Linked DNA regions of Homo sapiens: region 2 is linked to region 1. Evidence: promoter capture Hi-C in human tissues and cell types (Jung and others, 2019). All regions are on one chromosome and are shown on one strand. The core of a region is centred on a gene start or on the middle of the fragment in contact, and the rest is flanking DNA. Distances in the headings are between cores, read along the strand shown.

The links. The method cuts DNA at HindIII sites, captures the fragments that hold promoters and counts their contacts. A contact is called where the count stands out against the background at its distance.
Region 2: the fragment with the promoter of CAPN7 here is called in contact with the fragment with the promoter of MRPS25 in region 1 in 1 of the 25 tissues and cell types used here (thymus).

What each region holds. Positions count from the first base shown.
Region 1 is chr3:15,061,005-15,067,812 of GRCh38, forward strand. MRPS25 (mitochondrial ribosomal protein S25) reads right to left here and starts at 4,311. Exons shown (of 4, transcript NM_022497.5): 1 at 4,057-4,311. The coding sequence starts at 4,190. RefSeq lists an enhancer at 4,291-4,470. The HindIII fragment of the contact is 13,424 bases long and covers 1-6,808 here.
Region 2 is chr3:15,204,996-15,211,213 of GRCh38, forward strand. CAPN7 (calpain 7) reads left to right here and starts at 1,251. Exons shown (of 21, transcript NM_014296.3): 1 at 1,251-1,602. The coding sequence starts at 1,501. It also overlaps the pseudogene COL6A4P1. RefSeq lists a silencer at 957-1,476. The HindIII fragment of the contact is 9,772 bases long and covers 1-6,218 here.

The DNA of each region.
Region 1 (6,808 bases), core at 3,061-5,560:
GTAGCAGGCCTCTGATCAGTTCCCACCCCACTGCAGAGTATCCCAGTGTCACAGAACTTTTTACAAATAAACTAGGACATAGCCAGGTGAGACGTTCCCATACTTTAAACTACTAGGACAGAAATGCAACAGAGATCTTAAAATGGTTCTTGCTGAAACACAAGATGAAAGTTAAGTCCCTCTCTCTCTCCCTCTGCCTCTCCGTCTCCCTCTCCCCACGGTCTCCCTCTCCCTCTTTCCACGGTCTCCCTCTGATGCCGAGCCGAAGCTGGACTGTACTGCTGCCATCTCGGCTCACTGCAACCTCCCTGCCTGATTCTCCTGCCTCAGCCTGCCCAGCGCCTGCGATTGCAGGCGCGCGCTGCCACGCCTGACTGGTTTTCGTATTTTTTTGGTGGAGACGGGGTTTCGCTGTGTTGGCCGGGCTGGTCTCCAGCTCCTAACCGCGAGTGATCCGCCAGCCTCGGCCTCCAGAGGTGCCGGGATTGCAGACGGTGTCTGGTTCACTCAGTGCTCAATGGTGCCCAGGCTGGAGTGCAGTGGCATGATCTCGGCTCGCTATAGCCTCCACCTCCCAGCCGCCTGCCTTGGCCTCCCAAAGTGTCCAGAGTGCAGCCTCTGCCCGGCCACCACCCCGTCTGGGAAGTGAGGAGCGTCTCTGCCTGGCCGCCCATCATCTGGGATGTGAGGAGCCCCTCTGCCTGGCTGCCCAGCCTGGAAAGTGAGGAGCGTCTCTGCCCGGCCGCCCATCGTCTGAGATGTGGGGAGCGCCTTTGCCCCGCCGCCCCATCTGGGATGTGAGGAGCGCCTCTGCCCGGCCGCGACCCCGTCTGGGAGGTGAGGAGCATCTCTGCCCAGCCACCCCGTCTGAGAAGGGAGGAGACCCTCCGCCCGGCAGCCGCCCTGTCTGAGAAGTGAGGAGCCCCTCCGCCCGGCAGCCGCCCCGTCTGAGAAGTGAGGAGCCCCTCCGCCCGGCAGCCGCCCCGTCTGGGAAGTGAGGAGCGTCTCCGCCCGGCAGCCGCCCCGTCCGGGAGGGAGTTGGGGGTCAGCCCCCGCCAGGCCAGCCGCCCCGTCTGGGAGGGAGGTAGGGGGCTCAGCCGCCCGGCCAGCCGCCCCATCCGGGAGGGAGTGCGGCGGGTCAGCCCCCCGCCCGGCCAGCCGCCCCGTACTGGGAGGTGAGGGGCACCTCTGCCTGCCGCCCCTAATGCGAAGTGAGGAGCCCCTCTGGCCCGGGCCAGCCGCCCGGTCCGGGAGGGGAGGTCAGGGGGTCAGCCCCCCGCCCGGCCAGCCGCCCCGTCCAGGAGGTGAGGGGGCGCCTCTGCCCGGGCCGCCCCTACTGGGAAGTGAGGAGCCCCTCTGCCCGGCCAGGCCGCCCCGTCCGGGAGGGAGGTGGGGGGTCAGCCCCCCGCCCGGCCAGCCGCCCCATCCGGGAGGGAGGTGGGGGGGGTCAGCCCCCTGCCCGGCCAGCCGCCCCGTCCAGGAGGTGAGGGGCGCCTCTGCCCGGCCGCCCCTACTGGGAAGTGAGGAGCCCCTCTGCCCGGCCACCACCCCATCTGGGAGGTGTGCCCAACAGCTCATTGAGAACGGGCCATGATGACAATGGCAGTTTTGTGGAATAGAAAGGGGGGAAAGGTGGGGAAAAGATTGAGAAATCGGATGGTTGCCGTGTCTGTGTGGAAAGAGGTAGACATGGGAGACTTTTCATTTTGTTCTGTACTAAGAAAAATTCTTCTGCCTTGGGATCCTGTTGATCTGTGACCTTACCCCCAACCCTGTGCTCTCTGAAACATGTGCTGTGTCCACTCAGGGTTAAATGGATTAAGGGCGGTACAAGATGTGCTTTGTTAAACAGATGCTTGAAAGCAGCATGCTCGTTAAGAGTCATCACCACTCCCTAATCTCAAGTACCCAGGGACACAAACACTCTGCCTAGGAAAACCAGAGACCTTTGTTCACTTGTTTATCTGCTGACCTTCCCTCCACTATTGTCCTATGACCCTGCCAAATCCCCCTCTGCGAGAAACACCCAAGAATGATCAATTGAAAAAAAAAAAAAAAGAAAGTTAATAATGGCAGGAACCTTGAGTTGAGCAACTGCTGTATATGCCAGACACTTTGCTAGGCACCTGACTCTCCAACCCCAGAAGGTGGGGTTTTACAATTTAAGGAAACTAAGGTCAGAAGTTAAGTAAACTGCCCCAGGTCTAACTGGGCTGATTAGTCTGGCCTTCGATCACACTGTTCTGTCACCATCAAATTCACCCTGAGGCTTGGGGACCACTTGTTCAGGGTAGAACACCTGGCAGAGGTGAGTAAGGACTTGGCCCTCAAATACTAAATAAGGCACCTTCCCATTGCCCCCAGCAGGTACCCAAAGACTGGCTGGACCGGTCGCAGGCACTTGGGATGGAGGTAGGTCCCAGTGGGGCAGCTGAAGGGCTGAGGGCACATGAACAAACAAGGGCTGGGGATTGGGGGAGGACTGCGGCTAGCCAGAGCAAGGCAGACAGACTCCAACCCACGGGTACAAGATCACAGAGGGCACAGGTGGCACAGGCCAGCCCCTACCACCAGGAACAAAGAAACAGTGAATGGCTGTTTGTATCCCATTTACCTAGAGGACATTAAAATATCTGAGAATGTAAGTAAGAGGCTCACAGGCTTATTTTGATTGGCTGGCCATTTAAAAGCCAGAGATTTACATAAAAACCTAGATTTCAGCTTCTTGACAAATGAGAAATTCTCCACGGAGCCCACAATGCCAAACAGTGAAGGGCCCTCTGGATAGGGCATGTGCTCTCCAGCTCGCTGCGGGCCGCACCGAGACCCCCACCCCTTCCCATTATCTGCCTGGCAGTTGCCCGGGGACAAAGGTGTGCACAGTTGTGCAGTAGGTTATGAAGGAGTATCTGGGTGCCCATACACCCTAAGACCAAGACCAAGTCTTCCAGGAAGCCATCAAGCCAGCTGATTCCAGGCAAGCAGGTCCAAGTTATCAGATTCACCTGCGCAGAGCAAATGGCTAGGAAGCGGCTTCCGGATCTCTTGAAGGGCCATGCAGTGAAGGTCCGTCACCAAGGGGACCATGCCCCACAAGAAGTTGCTCCCCGCCCCCACGCCTCATTTTGATCCAACATACACCCAAGTCCCAAAGTTTCTGCGGGCTAAGGCTGCCTCCTCCATCACTGCTGAACTCCCAGCACACAGCACACAGCCTAGCACTCAGAGTGTACTCAATAAATGTAGACTTCATACCTGCAGAGCCTAAGGCACTGCTTAGGGCTGCCTCAGGGTCAATCCAAACCTTTCACTTGCCAACTGCCATTCAATGAGTCCCTACTCTGCTCCAAGCTGAAAGACATCCTAGGCGTTCCCTACAGTTCCTTCTAGTCGGGGTAGGGTCTGCCGCTGCACAGCTGACATAATTAATCACTTCCTTCCAAACCTTGAGTCCCGAAGGAAGCGGCCACACTGCCCGGCTCACCGCTCACCGGCTGGCATGGTGTCTCGTGGAGCTGCAAGTTACTTAACCTCTCTGTGCGCTTCCCCAGCCTTAGAGTGGGGATAAGCTGGGGTTTCTCTAGGCATCAGAAAAAAGAAAGCGCGAGAAGCATTCAGAACTGTGCGAGATATGATCAGTGTTCGCCGCTGTTATTTCTCTCATTTTATCCTCAGATTCGTCCTGGGGTGTCACCCCCGTCACCCCGAAAGGATCTGCGGCTGCCCCTCCCCAGCGCTTGCCTTGCTGGCCAGAGGGGCCAAGGGAACTGGTGGCCTCCCTCGGGTCAGCCTCGCCCACCGCGCCGGAGGAAGGAGATCCAGGAGTGGGGTTCTTGTCCTCCGCCCCCCAAACCTCGTCACGACTGCAGCCGGCCCGGCGGGGGCCCCGCCGTCCGCCTCAGTCTGGACCTCTGTAAAATGGGGGTAACAGCGCCGACCTGGGGGGCCCGCCCCGGGGATGAACGGCCGCCCAGAGCGACTCGGGACCTCACGTTACCAGCAGGCTGGCACGACTAGCAGGTTACGGCTCGCCAGGCGGCCGGGGCTGCGACTGACCTGGCGCCCTCGCCCAGCTCCCCATGCGTGTTGTAATTCACTGTCATGACCTTCACGGAGTCCTTGAACACCACGTTCCCCTGGCTCAGATATTGCAGGGTGCGGCGGATGGGGAAGCGGCCCTTCATGGGCATGGCGGCAACGGTGGCGGGGCCGACCCCACGGGCCGCGAGCCGAGCAGCGACGAGAAAGGACTAGCTAGCACCCGCGCGGATCTCACGCGGCTTCTCCCCAGAGCCAGGTTCCACTTCCCGCGCAGACGCACAGGAGACGCTTCCCGGCGGGCAGCGCACGCCGCGGAGCACTCTGGGACTTGTAGGCGGCCTTCGACCCGGCGCGGCGAGAACCGGTGTGTGCAGCTTCGCTTTAGGACGCCTTCCCCTTGGAAGGTTTAGGTTGTCGCGTCCTGTAAATTAGTCATTTCCCCATCCACCCACGGGAAAATATTTTTACATAGGCTAAAAGTCAGACATTGCAATAAGAAATAATCAGGAAAGCTCAGTTTGGATACCAAGTCAGCTGATAACGTCCTATTGAACGTATTGTCCATTTTTCTCCCCAAACATCTCCAGTTTTATCATGAAGAGTTCAAACTGCACTTTCTGACGTTGACTTAAACTTCTTAGCAAAAGAAAAAAAGATGGTTTGGGATCAATTCCTTCCTAAATTCAGCCACTTAACTCAGGACCTCAATTTTTTCGTAAACAAACTATGGGTGAGATGTATTTCTAGGGCCAGGCGCGGTGGCTCCCGCCTGTAAACCCAGCCTTTGGGGAAGCCGAGGCGGAAGGATCGCTTGAGGTCAGGAATTCGAGACCAGCCTGCCCAACATGGCGAAACCCCGTCTCTACTGAAAATACAAAAATTAGCCTGGTGTGGTGGCAGCACCTGTGGTCCCAGCTACTCAGAAGACTGAGGTGGGAGGATCGCTCGAACCCGGGAAGTTGCAGTGAGCCGAGATCGCGCCACTGCACTCCAGCCTGGGCGACAGAGCAAGACTCCCTCTCAAAAAAAAAAAAGATACATTTCTGAAGTACTCTTGATCTGAAAGGTATTTCTCCTTCTCTTTTGAAGAGTGATTTTGCCAGATTTAGAATTCTAGGTTAGTGTTTTTCCTTTCCCTCCCTCCCTTCTGGAGTGCAATGGTGCTATCTTGGCTCACCGCAACCTCCGCCTCCCAGGTTCAAGTGATTCTCCTGCCTCAGCCTCCCGAGTAGCCGGACTTACAGGCATGCGCCACTACACCCAGCTAATTTTGTATTGTCAGTAGAGACGGGGATTCTCCATGTTGGTCAGGCTGGTATCAAACTCCTGACCTCAGATGATCCGCCCGTCTCAGCTTCCCAAAGTGCTGGGATTACAGGCGTGAGCCACTGCGCCTGGCCCTGGTGTTTTTCTTTCAACAATTTAAATAGTTCACTCCACTCTTTTTTTGCTTGCATGGTTTCAAACAAGTAATTAAATGCAATTACATTTATAGGTATGATGGCTTTTTCCTTTAGCTTCTTTCAAATTTTCTCTTGGTGTTTGGTTTACGGGGTTAGAATAAGGTAATGCAGATCTGTAGATGTTTTGTATTTGTCCTGCTTGGAGTCCTCTGAGCCTCCTGGATCTGTGATTTCATGTCTGTCATTAATTTTGTAAAGTTCTTAGCCATTTATTAGTTCAGGTATTTATTCTTCACTCTTTTCTCTTTCTAGTATTCAAGTTAAATGCATTTTATGTCTTCTGGAATTGCCTCATAGTTCTCGAATGTTCTGGCGGGGTGATGGAGGTTCTCTTTGCATTTTAGTGGGGAAGTTTCTGTTGACCTATCTTCAAATTCATTTAATCTTTGGTTATGGACAGTCTACTGATAAGCCCATTAAGGCATTTTTCATTTAAGGTTTTAACTTCTAGCACTTCCTTTTGATTCTTAGGGTGTTTGTTTGTTTGTTTTGAGACAAAGTCTCTGTCACCCAGCCTGGAGTGCACTGGTGCAATCTCTGCTCACTGCAACCTCTACCTCCTGGGCTCAAGCAATTCTCCCACCTCTGCCACTTAGCTGGGACTACAGGTGCACACCACCATGCCTGGCTAATTTTTTTTTTTTTTTTTTTTGAGACGAAGTCTCGCTCTGTCACCCAGGCTGGAGTGCAATGGCACTATCTTGGCTCACTGCAACCTCTGCCTCCCAGGTTCAAATGATTCTCCTGCCTCAGCCTCCCAAGTGGCTGAGATTACAGGTGCCCACCACCACACCCAGCTAGTTTTTGTATTTTTAGTAGAGACAGGGTTTCACCATGTTGGCCAGGCTGGTCTTGAACTCCTGACCTCGTGATCCACCCGCATTGGCCTCCCAAAGTGCTGTGATTACAGTCATGAGCCACTGTGCCCAGTCTAATTTTTGTATTTTTAGTAGAGATGGGGTTTCACCTTGTTGGCCTGGCTGGTCTCAAACTCCTGACCTCAAGTGATCTGCCTGCCTCAGCCTCCCAAACTGCTGGGATTACAAGTGTGAACCACCACACCTCGCATGATTCTTAGTTTTCTTATGTCTGTTTACATTACCCATCTGTTCTTGTATGTTGTTTACTTTTACCATTAGACCCCTTAACAGACCACATTTTAAATTTCTTGTCTGATAATTCCAATATCTGAGTGTGATTCTGATGTTTGCTTTGTTTCATCTGATTGTTGGGTTTATTTTTTTCCTTGCCTTTTAGCATGCTTATAATTTTTTTGTTGAAGGTAGAATATCCACTCTATTGGG
Region 2 (6,218 bases), core at 1-2,500, 140 kb after region 1:
CACATTAGATATATTTAAGTAGTGGAGTTGACTCATTCAACATTTTAAAATATTTGTTGAACACCTGCTCTGGAACAAGGCTTGCGCTCAACGCTGGGATCAAAGTGGTAAAGACAGGAAGCATCCCTGCTTCAGCTATAAAACTGTAGTTGCTACCTTTGAGAGCCATCTTTGGGCCAGGCACAAAATCAAATTCTGTGTGTCTTTATAACAGCCTGATGAGACCGTTGTTATTAAGAACTTCACTAAATGTGAAGAAATACACTTAAACTAAGAAATTAGAGTCCCATTTTAAATGCAGGCCAAATGACTGAAAAAAAATTTAGAGTATAATTAAAAAATTAAAAGTACACACTTAAAATGTAGTTTGATAAGTTTTGACAAACGTATATATTTTTACACCACCATTGAGATATAAAACATTCTCATCATCCGAAAAGATTCCTTTGTATCCCCTTCCCAACCACTGATCTGCTTTCTAACATCGTAGTGTTTTCTAGTGTTTCTTATAGATGGAATTATACATTATGTACTCAATTCTTACTTCTTTGACTCAGCATGAATTTGGTGGTGCCCATCACTAATTCATTTTTATTACTGCTGACTTCAGACCTTTAGGGGAGAGAAGACATAAATCAAATAATCACCTAATTAAGTATTTAATTACAACAGCATCAAGTTAACCTAAGGGTAAGTACAAGTGGAAATACATTACCTTGTTTGTTAACAATTCAATCAATACGACCTTGGTGTACAGTGGGGGGCTATAGGGTCATGATTCAGCTTGTGGAAAACAAATGAAAATAAATGTTAGCGAAGAGTGACTCTAAAGAACCTCTGTCCTCACGGTAATTTTTTTAATGTGTCAGATGCTGGTGGGAGGCATTCTTCCTTAGCTCTTTACTCCCATCCCTTACACTTAACAGAGGAAAGGATCTGTAAGGCGCGTACCCCTCTACTGCCCACTGTCGACGAAAACAGCCTCGCCCTGCACCGCCACCGCCACGCATAAGGCGGTGTGTGGGCAGCTCGGACGTGGCACCTGCCCTCAGCTGCTCAATCCCGGGCGCCGCGACGGTCACGTGCACAGCGGCAGGCCTTTTTGCCCCGCCCCCGCGGCCCGGCTCCTGCGTGGGCCCGGCCCCGCCCACAGCCCGCGCAGTCCCGCGAGCCTGGCCTCGGCGGCCCCAGCTTCTAAGGAGCTCGTGAGGGCCAGGCTGCGCCTGCGTCGGGCGGCTGGTGGGCGGGGCGAGGGCCGCTGGGGCCGCGAAGTGGGGCGGCCGGGTGGGCTACAAGCCGGGTCTGGGCTGAGGGGCGCGGCTTCGCGGTGGACCCCAGCCCGGCAACGGGAAGGCGAGCTCTCCTCCACCGTCCAAAGTAAACTTTGCCGCTCCTTCCGCGGCGCTCCCGAGTCCTCGCCGCCGCCGGGCCGCCGCAGTCCGCGAAGAGCCGTCCTGCGTCAGGGCCTCCTTCCCTGCCCCGGCGCGGGGCCACTGCGCCATGGACGCCACAGCACTGGAGCGGGACGCTGTGCAGTTCGCCCGTCTGGCGGTTCAGCGCGACCACGAAGGCCGCTACTCCGAGGCGGTGTTTTATTACAAGGTAGGGCCGGGCCCGGCGCTTCGGTCGGAGTTGCTCAGTCGGAGTGCGGCCCGGGCCTGCGGCCGAGGGGCGGGATCCGGGTGCGGAGGCTAGCGGCCCCGGCTTTGCTTTTCCCTCGTCCGCCTCCCGGCCCTCCTCTTGTTGGGAGCGGCAAGCCCGAGTGCAGAGGCCGACGCTGAGGCTGCGGGGAGGCTGGGTCGCGGCTTGCAGCCGCCGCTCCTCCACCTGTAGTCCTGACTGGCAAATGCCCACCGTTGAGCCGCTTTGGGGGGCAGGTGTTAGATATGGGTAGTTAGTAGCCAATTCTTGCTGTCACTTGACTCTGATTTACAGCTAGCGGGAAATGGCCTGTGATATATATCAAAATAATGCATGCTCGTTAAATAAACTTAAAAAGAATAAAAACCATCTCCTGTCATAGCATTTGACATACAGTCATGCGTCCTTAGCGATGTGATATTTTCTGAGAAATGTGTTCTTAGGCCATTTTGTTGTTGTGCGAACACCGTAGAAAGCGCTTACACAAGCCTGAATGGTACAGCCTGTTCCACACCTAAGCTGTATGGCATGGCCTGTTGCTCCTAGGTTACAGGCCTGCGCAGCGTGTTGCTGTACTCAGTGGTGTGTGCAGTTACATGCAGTGGTAAGTATTTGTGCATCTAAACATAGAAAAGGTACAGTAAACATGCAGCATAAAAGATAAAAAAAAAATACTACACCAGTGTGGGGCACTTACCCACAAAAGGAGCTTGCAGGACTGGAAGTTGCTCTGAGTTGGTGAGTAGTGGTGAGTGAATGTGAAGGCCTGGGACATTCACTGCTCTACTCTTGTAGACTTTATAAGCAGTGTACCCTTAGGCTACGCTAAATTTTTTTAATCTTTCTTCAGTAATAAACTAACCTTAGCTTACGGTAACCCTTTTACTTTATAAACTTCTAAATTTTCTTAACTTTTTAACTCTTTTGTAATAGCTTAAAACGAACTTATTGTGCAGTTACACAAACATTTTCTTTATATCTTTATTTGGTAAGTTTTTTTGTTTCTTTTTTTTTTTTTATTCTTTAGTTAAAAACTAAGGCACACGTTAGCCTAGGCCTACACCTCGTCAGGATCATCAATATTACTGTCTTCCACCTCCAATCTTGTCCCACTGGGAGGTCTTCAGGAGCAATAACAGGAATGAAACTGTCGTCTCCTATGATAACAATGTCTCTTGAAATATCTCCTGAAGGACATGTCAGAGACTGTTTTATAGTTAACTTTTTTTTATAAAAGGAGTATACTAACAGTACATAGTATAGCATAGTAAATACATAAACCAGTAACATAGTTGTTGATTATCAAGTATTATGTACTCTACATTATTGTGTGTGGTAGACTTTTACACCACTGGCACCCCAGTAGGTTTGTTTACATCAGCATCACCACAAACATGCGAGTAAAGTGTTGTGCTATGACATTATGATGGCTATGACATGACCAGGCAATAGGAATTTTTCAACTCCATTATAATCTTAGGGGACCACTATCATATATTCAGTCTGTTGTTGACTGAAATGTTATGTGGTGTGTGACTATATTTTTGTGTTTTTTTATGCGTATGTGTATATGCTTTTTTTTTTTTTTTACAAACTGGTTTATACTGTTTTTAGTAATAGCTGCACAGTAGTTCATTATGTGGGTGTACCATATTTTTTTTTTTAAGAGACAGCGTCTTGCCCTGTCACTCAGCCTGGAGTGCCGTGGCCCACTAATAATAGCTCATTGCAGCCTCAAACTGCAAAGCTCAAGCAATCCTCCTGCCTCAGTCTCCCAATTGGTGGGACTACAGGTAGACACAACCACACTTGGCTAATTTTTTTTTTTTTTTTTTTTTTGTGTAGAAATGGAGTCTCGCTGTGTTGCCCAGGCTGGTTTCGAACTCCTGGGTCAAGCGATCTTCCTGCCTCAGTCTCCCAAAATGCTGGAATTACAGGCGTGAGCCTCTGTGCCTGTCCAGTGTACTATAATTAATTTACAGACTCTTGGGCATTCAGTTGATTTTGTTTTTTCAACATCATAAGTAACGATGTAGTTCATATCTTTATAACTAATTCTTATGACTAGTGCAAATTTTTGCCTGAATTTTCTTTGGGATAAATTACCGGGGACAGAATTGATAAATCAAAGGGTATGAGCTTCCATGGTCCACTCTCTTCTCTCCAATTCTGAGGATTTGCAAATATACCCCTCTAGCTCTAGCTAGATTTGGAGGGAGCTGTGTCCTCATGATAGTGTCACCTTTTCTTTTAGAAAGATTATCAGACTTTGATAATACTGTACAATAGTAGTACTTTTTTTCACAAATGTATGTGCTGTCAATAAAGTGTGGTTTGTTTCAGATTAATATTTTGTTGCTTTCATTTTATAATCTTTTTTCCTTTTTTTTTGAGACGGAGTTTTGTTCTTGTTGCTCAGGCTGGAGTGCAATAGCACAATCTCGACTCGCTGCAACCTCCACCTCGTGGGTTCAAGTGATTCTCCTGCCTCAGCCTCCTGAGTAGCTGGGATTACAGGCATGCACCACCACCCCCGGCTAATTTTGTATTTTTAGTAGAGACCGGGTTTCTCCATGTTGGTCAGGCTGGTCTCAAACTCCCGACCTCAGGTGATCCACCTGCCTCGGCTTCCCAAAGTGCTGGGATTATAGGCATGAGCCACCGCCCCCAGCCTATTTTTTTCTTTTTTTATTGATAGGTAATGTACATAGTTTCAGGGTACATGTGATAATTTAATACATTAATATAATTTGTAAAGATAAATCAGCATACTTGGGATAGCCATCACCTTAACTACTTCACAGCTGAACTGTGCAGCTTTTATTACTGAATATTATTCCCTTAATATTTATGCTAGGAACATTTGAATTAATCTAGCTATTTTGAAATGTACAATCAAATATTATAAACTCTGGTCACCCTGTGATCTATCTTAACAGTAGGTCTCATTCTATTATAATCTGCTTTATGTTTAGAGAGTTTTGGTGCATTTCAGAATCCTTTTAGACTTTTTTGACAATTTCACAAGGCATTGTTTAAGAGAAAAATTGTGTGTGTTTTGTGAAATAGCTTTGACAACAGGTTAAAATAGTGCTATATAAAAATAGATTTTATTAAAGCAAAAGAAACTGCTATGCACTGCCCCTTGTTTCCTATAGACTTACATACATGTCAGGAAGAATTTTTTATCTTTGAGAAAGCCAAAAAAAGTGGTTGTACTTCTAGAAATTATTTATATAAGCTTCATCAGTTTAGTATTTAGTGTTTTCTGCCCAGTCCTTTCTATAAGCTATTTATTTCTTGTCAGTTTTGAATATAAATGAAATGAGTAAAATAAAATTGACACCAGCAGTTTTTTAAATTGGCTTTATTTTATTTTTCAGAGACAGGGTCTCATTCTGTCACCCAGGCTGGCGGGCAGTGGTGAGATCATAACTCACTGCAGCCTCAAACTCCTGGGCTAAAACAATCTTCCAGCCTCAGCCTCCTGAGTAGCTGGGACTACAGGTGTGCACCACAATACCTGGCTAATTTTTTTTTTTTCCAGAAATGGGGATTTCACTATGTTGCCCAGTTAGTCTTGAACTCCTGGCCTCAAGCAGTCCTCCTGCCTCAGACTCCTAAGTAAAAAAAATAGCTTTTTTTAAAAAGTACAATAATTATTTGGAAATTAATAATCACATACAAGATAACTGAAGGGGCAATATATGTGTATTATATACTTATATAATTTACATGTATCAAAAACATTCCGTTTATTGGATTTAAGTGTAGTTACAATGTATTTAGATAATGATGGTATGTAAGATATATTTAATGTTTACATGTAAAGTTATACTTTCCTCCTCTGAAATAGTTATAGAATCTAAGGAAGTCATATCTTTTCTATCCCACTGCCTTTAGGCTGAATTTTCATTGTAGTCAAAACTGTACTTTTTCATTCCTTCCTTGCTTCCTTCCTTTTTTTTTTTTTTTTTGGACAGTATCTTACTCTGTCACCCAGGCTGGAGTGCAGTGGCCCGATCACAGCTCACTGCAGCCTCCACCTCCCAGGGCTCAGGTGATCCTCCCGCCTCAGCCTCCTGAGTAGCTGGGACTACTTTGTAGAGACAGGGTTTCACCATGTTGCCCAGGCTGAAAACTGCACTTTTCTTAATTTTGTTAGGTTCAGTGAAACAACTCCTGCTCAAACAACTGGATTCAAAAAGTGATGTTCAGTAGATGGCATCTTTGGAAACAGGCATGATGACCCATGAAGTGTACACGCTTGGGTTACTGCAGAGAAGGTGCTGTTACTTGTAGAAATCTGTCTTTGCTTTTCTAGGTGGTAGCATTGGTAACCTTCCTGGAATGGTGATGAGGAGAATGGAAACACCACCTTCTAGCCATAGCATAACTGGTCGTGGAAGTTATGGAATAACTGGAAGAAGAATCCAGATTTTCTTAAAATTAAAATAAGTGTAATTTATACAACTAAAATCTGCTTTAAAATGTGTCATCCTTTGTCAGTATTTTCTGTGGAGAAAACTGTTTTCCTTTTACTGTGAGATATTTAACCTGTGTAATCTCCTGTAATC